Linked DNA regions of Homo sapiens: region 2 is linked to region 1. Evidence: promoter capture Hi-C in 16 types of primary human blood cells and fetal thymus (Javierre and others, 2016). All regions are on one chromosome and are shown on one strand. Each heading gives the region's core, a stretch centred on a gene start or on the middle of the fragment in contact. The rest is flanking DNA. Distances are from core to core; before and after follow the strand shown.

What was found. Contacts are between HindIII fragments. The CHiCAGO score rates a contact against its expected background, and 5 or more counts as called.
Region 2: a fragment that was not itself captured here is called in contact with the fragment with the promoter of BCL2 in region 1 in 16 of 17 cell types (activated CD4 T cells, total CD8 T cells, total CD4 T cells and 13 more); the score reaches 23.7 in activated CD4 T cells.

Annotation. Positions count from the first base shown.
Region 1 is chr18:63,318,296-63,321,795 of GRCh38, reverse strand. It overlaps BCL2 (BCL2 apoptosis regulator), which reads left to right and starts at 2,027. Exons shown (of 3, transcript NM_000633.3): 1 at 2,027-2,622; 2 at 2,844-3,500. The coding sequence starts at 3,130. RefSeq lists an enhancer at 170-259 and silencers at 1,151-1,220, 1,251-1,460, 1,621-1,810, 3,166-3,405. The HindIII fragment of the contact is 7,545 bases long and covers 1-3,500 here.
Region 2 is chr18:63,111,284-63,115,110 of GRCh38, reverse strand. No RefSeq gene overlaps it. Among named protein-coding and RNA genes, the nearest start is that of BCL2, 210 kb to the left of the region's middle. The HindIII fragment of the contact is 1,364 bases long and covers 1,116-2,479 here.

The DNA of each region.
Region 1 (3,500 bases), core at 778-3,277:
AAAAATACAAAAATTAGCAGAGCGTAGTGGCGTGCACGTGTAATCCCAGCTACTCAGGAGGCTGAGGCAGAATTGCTTGAGCCTGGGAGGCAGAGGTTGCAGTGAGCTGAGATCGCACCACTGCACACCAGCCTCCAAGATACAACAGAGCAAGACTCTGTCTCAAAAAAAAAAAAAAAGTCATAGCATATTTGTACACATTGTAGTACTCATTTGTCATCTTTCTTGACCCCAATAATCCAGTGTCCCTATATATTTGCACTCGAGCCCTATTAAGTAAGCCGCTGTGCTTCTAGAAGACCTTTTTCTTTTCTTGGTGCTTTGTCAAAGACTCTTGGAGATAAAAATACACACGTGCAACTTGTTTGTCCTCTTGTCCTTTTTTGCTAGGGGCTATTCATGCTGATTAATTTAAAACTGTCTGCTTGCGCGTACACACGTCTGCGAGTGTGAATGTGTATGTGTGTATCTATGTACCTCATTTGAGAAAGTGCGGCCAACTAGGATTGGCTACGAGGCAAAGGTGGAGACCTTTAGGAGCCCACCCACCCCAGCGTTAGGACGGTGGGCCTGAAAGTTACTATATGGAAGTCCTCATCGTGTAGCACTAAACCAGTGTAAAAGGTGTTAGGGACAGAGGGAAAACATTGACTTAAACTGTCGTAAAGCCCTTGATAAACCCCTTCCCTGGAGCGCTGAGTTCTGCATGGCCTGGGCCACGGACTAGGTGTTCAGGTGGACACGGGCGGGGATGCGCGTGCGTGTGTAGTGCGCGGACACCTAGGAAGCTACTTGAAAGTAAACACCACGCTCGGGGCGTCCCTAGACATTGCTTAAAACGTGCAGAGTCACCTGTCTTCACAGCAGGGCAGCGCTGAGGTCCCACTGCTGGGGGCGGTGGGGGGCGGCATTGGCCTGGGTCTTCCCCCGGCGGCCGAGCGCCGGTAACACAACGTGTGTGTGTGTAGGCGCGTGTACACACTCTCATACACGGCTAGAAAGGGTCCAGGCGACACACACACTCCCACATACACGGCTAGAAAAGGTCCAGGCGAGACACACACACACACACACACACACACACACACTCCACACACACTCACACGGCCAGAAAGGGTCCAGGCGGTTCCCGGCGCTTTTCCAGCCCTTGTTTTCATGGCGCACCCTCCCGCCAGCCGCCCCCCTCCGCACTCCGTCGTCCGCCCGGCCCGGCCGCGTGCGGTTCCCCGGGAGCCCCCACCCCGTCGCGGACCCCAGCGACCACCAAGTCCGCACGCGGCCTGCCGCAGGCCTGAGCAGAAGGCCCCGCGCACACCCACCGCGCCGCGGCCGCGCGGGAGGCCTGTGCCGCCCGCGCCACCCACTGGCCGGGCCCCGCGGGCGCAGCGGAGCGGGCGGGTGGCCGGCCCGGACGCGCCCTCCCCGGCCGCGGCCCCGCGCGCCATGTGCCCCCGGCGGGACGCGCCACTCCCGGGCCTGCCGCGGCGCCTTTAACCCGGGCCAGGGAGCGGGGCGGAGGGGGCGGTCGGGTGGCTCAGAGGAGGGCTCTTTCTTTCTTCTTTTTTTGAATGAACCGTGTGACGTTACGCACAGGAAACCGGTCGGGCTGTGCAGAGAATGAAGTAAGAGGACAGGCACCACAGCCCCGCTCCCGCCCCCTTCCTCCCGCGCCCGCCCCTCCGCGCCGCCTGCCCGCCCGCCCGCCGCGCTCCCGCCCGCCGCTCTCCGTGGCCCCGCCGCGCTGCCGCCGCCGCCGCTGCCAGCGAAGGTGCCGGGGCTCCGGGCCCTCCCTGCCGGCGGCCGTCAGCGCTCGGAGCGGGCTGCGCGGCGGGAGCTCCGGGAGGCGGCCGTAGCCAGCGCCGCCGCGCAGGACCAGGAGGAGGAGAAAGGGTGCGCAGCCCGGAGGCGGGGTGCGCCGGTGGGGTGCAGCGGAAGAGGGGGTCCAGGGGGGAGAACTTCGTAGCAGTCATCCTTTTTAGGAAAAGAGGGAAAAAATAAAACCCTCCCCCACCACCTCCTTCTCCCCACCCCTCGCCGCACCACACACAGCGCGGGCTTCTAGCGCTCGGCACCGGCGGGCCAGGCGCGTCCTGCCTTCATTTATCCAGCAGCTTTTCGGAAAATGCATTTGCTGTTCGGAGTTTAATCAGAAGAGGATTCCTGCCTCCGTCCCCGGCTCCTTCATCGTCCCCTCTCCCCTGTCTCTCTCCTGGGGAGGCGTGAAGCGGTCCCGTGGATAGAGATTCATGCCTGTGCCCGCGCGTGTGTGCGCGCGTGTAAATTGCCGAGAAGGGGAAAACATCACAGGACTTCTGCGAATACCGGACTGAAAATTGTAATTCATCTGCCGCCGCCGCTGCCTTTTTTTTTTCTCGAGCTCTTGAGATCTCCGGTTGGGATTCCTGCGGATTGACATTTCTGTGAAGCAGAAGTCTGGGAATCGATCTGGAAATCCTCCTAATTTTTACTCCCTCTCCCCGCGACTCCTGATTCATTGGGAAGTTTCAAATCAGCTATAACTGGAGAGTGCTGAAGATTGATGGGATCGTTGCCTTATGCATTTGTTTTGGTTTTACAAAAAGGAAACTTGACAGAGGATCATGCTGTACTTAAAAAATACAAGTAAGTTCTCTGCACAGGAAATTGGTTTAATGTAACTTTCAATGGAAACCTTTGAGATTTTTTACTTAAAGTGCATTCGAGTAAATTTAATTTCCAGGCAGCTTAATACATTCTTTTTAGCCGTGTTACTTGTAGTGTGTATGCCCTGCTTTCACTCAGTGTGTACAGGGAAACGCACCTGATTTTTTACTTATTAGTTTGTTTTTTCTTTAACCTTTCAGCATCACAGAGGAAGTAGACTGATATTAACAATACTTACTAATAATAACGTGCCTCATGAAATAAAGATCCGAAAGGAATTGGAATAAAAATTTCCTGCATCTCATGCCAAGGGGGAAACACCAGAATCAAGTGTTCCGCGTGATTGAAGACACCCCCTCGTCCAAGAATGCAAAGCACATCCAATAAAATAGCTGGATTATAACTCCTCTTCTTTCTCTGGGGGCCGTGGGGTGGGAGCTGGGGCGAGAGGTGCCGTTGGCCCCCGTTGCTTTTCCTCTGGGAAGGATGGCGCACGCTGGGAGAACAGGGTACGATAACCGGGAGATAGTGATGAAGTACATCCATTATAAGCTGTCGCAGAGGGGCTACGAGTGGGATGCGGGAGATGTGGGCGCCGCGCCCCCGGGGGCCGCCCCCGCACCGGGCATCTTCTCCTCCCAGCCCGGGCACACGCCCCATCCAGCCGCATCCCGGGACCCGGTCGCCAGGACCTCGCCGCTGCAGACCCCGGCTGCCCCCGGCGCCGCCGCGGGGCCTGCGCTCAGCCCGGTGCCACCTGTGGTCCACCTGACCCTCCGCCAGGCCGGCGACGACTTCTCCCGCCGCTACCGCCGCGACTTCGCCGAGATGTCCAGCCAGCTGCACCTGACGCCCTT
Region 2 (3,827 bases), core at 548-3,047, 210 kb after region 1:
ATGTATGGGTATTTTTCCCCACACACCAAGCAGGGAACACTAGCTGGCTGTCCTCTAATTCAGTTCCAACACTGTCTACCTGGAGACCTTGTCAGATCCCACAGGTTGAGGGCTCAGTCCCCAAGACTGCCTCCGACCACACCAGTCAGAAGTCCAGGCCTTTGGAACTGCTGACCAACAAGCTTCAAGTTGGGGTCCCCAGAGCCCCCTCTTTGGCTTCAGTGAATTTGCTGGAGCAGCTCACAGAACTCAGGGAAGTACTTACTTATGTTTACCGGTTTATGGTAAAAGATATTGCAAAGGATACAGATGAAGAGACACGTGGGATGAGGAATGGGGGACAGGGTGTGGAGCTTCTACGCCCTCCCTCGGTGCCACCCTCCAGGAACCTCAGCATGTTCAGCTGTCTGGAGGCTCCTTGAACCCTGTCCGCTGGGTTTTTATGGAAGCTTCATGATGTCAGCATTCCTTTCCCCAGGGCACAGGGTAGGAACCACTCATAGGAAGGTCTTAAGGACCTCAATCAGCTGCACGGAGTCTCTGTGCAGTGGACCTAGGCTCCAGCTGTGGCTACAACATAGGGTTTTTATACAAGAAAAATAAAGTGAATTAAGCCTGAAAAAAAGAAAAGAACCTCAATCAGAAAAGCAGTAGAGTCCTGCCCTGGGGCAGGTGAAAAGGGGCAGAAGTAGGTCAGAGACTTAACACACCCAACATCATAATAAAAGATGGTAACAAAGGCTATGCGAGTCACAAGCCAGGAACCACGGAGGAAAACCAGTACCTATCATAACACCACAATAGGCTATTTTTTTTTTTTCATACTAAGGCTTTGAAGTCAATGTGGAATTGACAGTGGCAGCATATCTCAGTGTGAGTGAGCCACATTTCAAGTGCTCAAGAGCCACATGTGGCTGGTGGCCACCATGCTGGACCATAGCACCGGACCAGACCCTGTGTACAGATATTTGACATCTCATGCACAAGTGATGTGTCTGCAAAACGACTTCCTCTTCAGGCCCCCGCTGCTCCCCACCTCACCCCATACTTGTTAATTAAGTTGTTAAAACAGGAAAACATCTTCTCCAACTCCCTCAATTCTCCTTTTTCAAGCTTAATCCAAAAAGGTTCTTACTTTTGAAACAGTTGTTATCAGTTCAAAGGGGAAACTAAATCTGAAATGTGTCCAGTGGAAGGATTGCAAGTCCTCTTGACAGGCAGTAAACTCTTGATATCAGGTCAGGGTTTGAATTCTGGCTTGCTAAGTGCACGACTTTGGGCAAAACATGTGGCCTCTTTGCATCTTTGATCATCAGTTCAATGGGTTGTGACACTTGTCCCACCATATTCTACCAGCCTCATACGGGGTAGTGGAGTCAGGGAGATCAAAGTGATGAATGTGAAAGAGTTTTCATGCCACATAAAATGGAAAATAATATTATTTATTATGAAAAACCATTAAAACATTATTTTCTGTGCAGCTACAGAAAATAATAAATCCACAATAGCTACGCAGACAGTGTAAAGATTCAAAGTAACAAACTGAACCAAAGAAGCAAATTCCTGTAATTACACGTCAACAATTTTCTCAACTACTACCAAACTTTGACTTGTCATTTTTATTTACAAAGACAGAGAGGGAATAATAAACGTCCCCCAAGATAATAATCAACTGTGGTCCTTGGAGCCAGGTACACAACATGAGAATGCATCTTGATAATGGCTTACAATAAACTTAGTTATGATCTTGACAATGACACTGCAGAGAGCATCACATGTGGACCTTTTTTTCAAAGACCAACAATTTGAGATATCTGCAGAGACTTCCTGCAATATCTCTGCCCCATAACCACCTGGATATTTCCTTGCAGTGATAGTTTTTAGATTAGTAACATTAGCTTCTAACATTCCCTATGACACCACTTAAAACTTACCTCCTTATTGTTTTATTTAAAATGAGATCTGTGTGCCAGGGAATGGGGAAATAGGTTGTCTTCATTCCTAATTTGTTCTCTCCCAAGTGTTATTTAAAAACAAAATTCCAATTTTGGGCTTTTCCCATTTGCCTTTACTAATTACTTCTTTTATGTTCCACCCATTTGTGCCATAACTAATTCAAGTTCAAATAGAACTTAGTCACTATTCCATCACAGTCATCTCCTGCTCCTAGAGAAGTCATCCACACGCCACAAAGACAGGAACCAAGAAGGCCTTGGCGCTTCATGAGACCACAAGTGTTGTCCCTCTGATCCAATCACGTGAGACCAAATTTGTCTGGGTCCAAGAGTGTAGAACGTGTCCTTACCTCCAAATTCACATGTGCTAGTTGTACGGCATGTGGAAATAAATGCAGACCAACCAAATGAGAAAAGCAAAGGCTATTTATTCAGAGCTTGCTATATATACTAAGGGAGTCGGCCACTCACTATCTTTTGCATTTTGGCAGAGAATCAAAGGCAAACAGATAAGTGGGAAAGCTTTAAAATGGCAAAGAGGGAAGGCTTTGAGCTCACCCTGATGGGAGGTTGTTGGCATAGGGTGGGGGCGCCTACATGGAGGTGGGCTAATTAGAAGCAGGACATCCTACATGAATAATTAGAGGTGCATATTGGCTTTCTCTGGTTGGTCCTAAATTGGAATCAGGGAAGAAAATCAAGGAAGCAGTCCATTATTAATTAACTCCTGGCCATTTGGGGGCAATTGTACAGAGGTTATTGTCTGGCTTCATGGGTTGTTTCTACAGACAGTGATCTGACTTCCTGCAAGTCTGATTTATAGCAGACCTGTTTCCTGGGCCGGTAACAGTAGGTCATGAGCTGGTTTCCTGGGCTGGCTGCTGTAGACTGTGGGTCTGAATTCTATTTTTATATCTGGTCTGGCCATTGCCCATTTGTATATTCAGTCTCTCAGCTGCAAAACAAAGCCAGTGAGGATGACAGGAACCTAGAAAGGAATAAACTTGAATGATCAGCAAATTATCAAATGAAGTCACCAGACTTCTGCAACACCCTGGCAGCCACCCAGCAATTTGCTAATGACATCCTCTAAGTCCTCCTCTCCCACTCCATAGCCACACCTTGGTGACATTTTTTTGTCTCCATTGCCACATTATATGAGACAGTGCTTCAAGAGCACATGCAATCCTGCAAAAACCACCAAGATGTGCAGAACTCAGATGCAGGAATTCAGCCTCATGTCTGGAGGCCTGATGATGCAACAGGTTATCCAAAGGGGATGCTGGGGTCCCAAAAGTTTTCTGAGATAAAGAATTTGGAAGCATCTCCTTGAGTTCCAGCAATCCTAAAATGTTTTACCACGGATTCTTTGGAAGAACTGCATCCACTTCCAACCACTACAAGTTGTTTTAACTATAATGTAGTGGTTGGGCTTTAAGTCAGATGGAATCCAACCCTGGCTCGGATCGTATAATTTCTAAAAAAAAAGCATAAAATAATCTACCTTTTACCCAGCACCTAGTGTGTGGCAGACACTATGCTAAGTGCTTCAGATACATTGTCTCCTTTAATCTGTGGCAACAGCCTTATGAGATGAGTACCTTTATTTTGCATTTTATAGGTCTCACTGGGCTAAAATCAAGTTGTAGACAGAGCTGCCTCCCTTCTGGAGGCCCTAGGGGAGAATTGTATCCTTGCCTTTTCCAGCTTCTAGAGGCCCCCCAACATTCCGTAGGTGGTGACCCTTCCTCCCATCACTCCAGCCTTTGCTTTCCTCACTCTCACTCTGATCTGCCTCTCTCTTACAACAACTCTAGGGTTAGGTTGGGCCCACCCAGACAATCCAAAATTCTGCCCCCATCTCAAGATCCT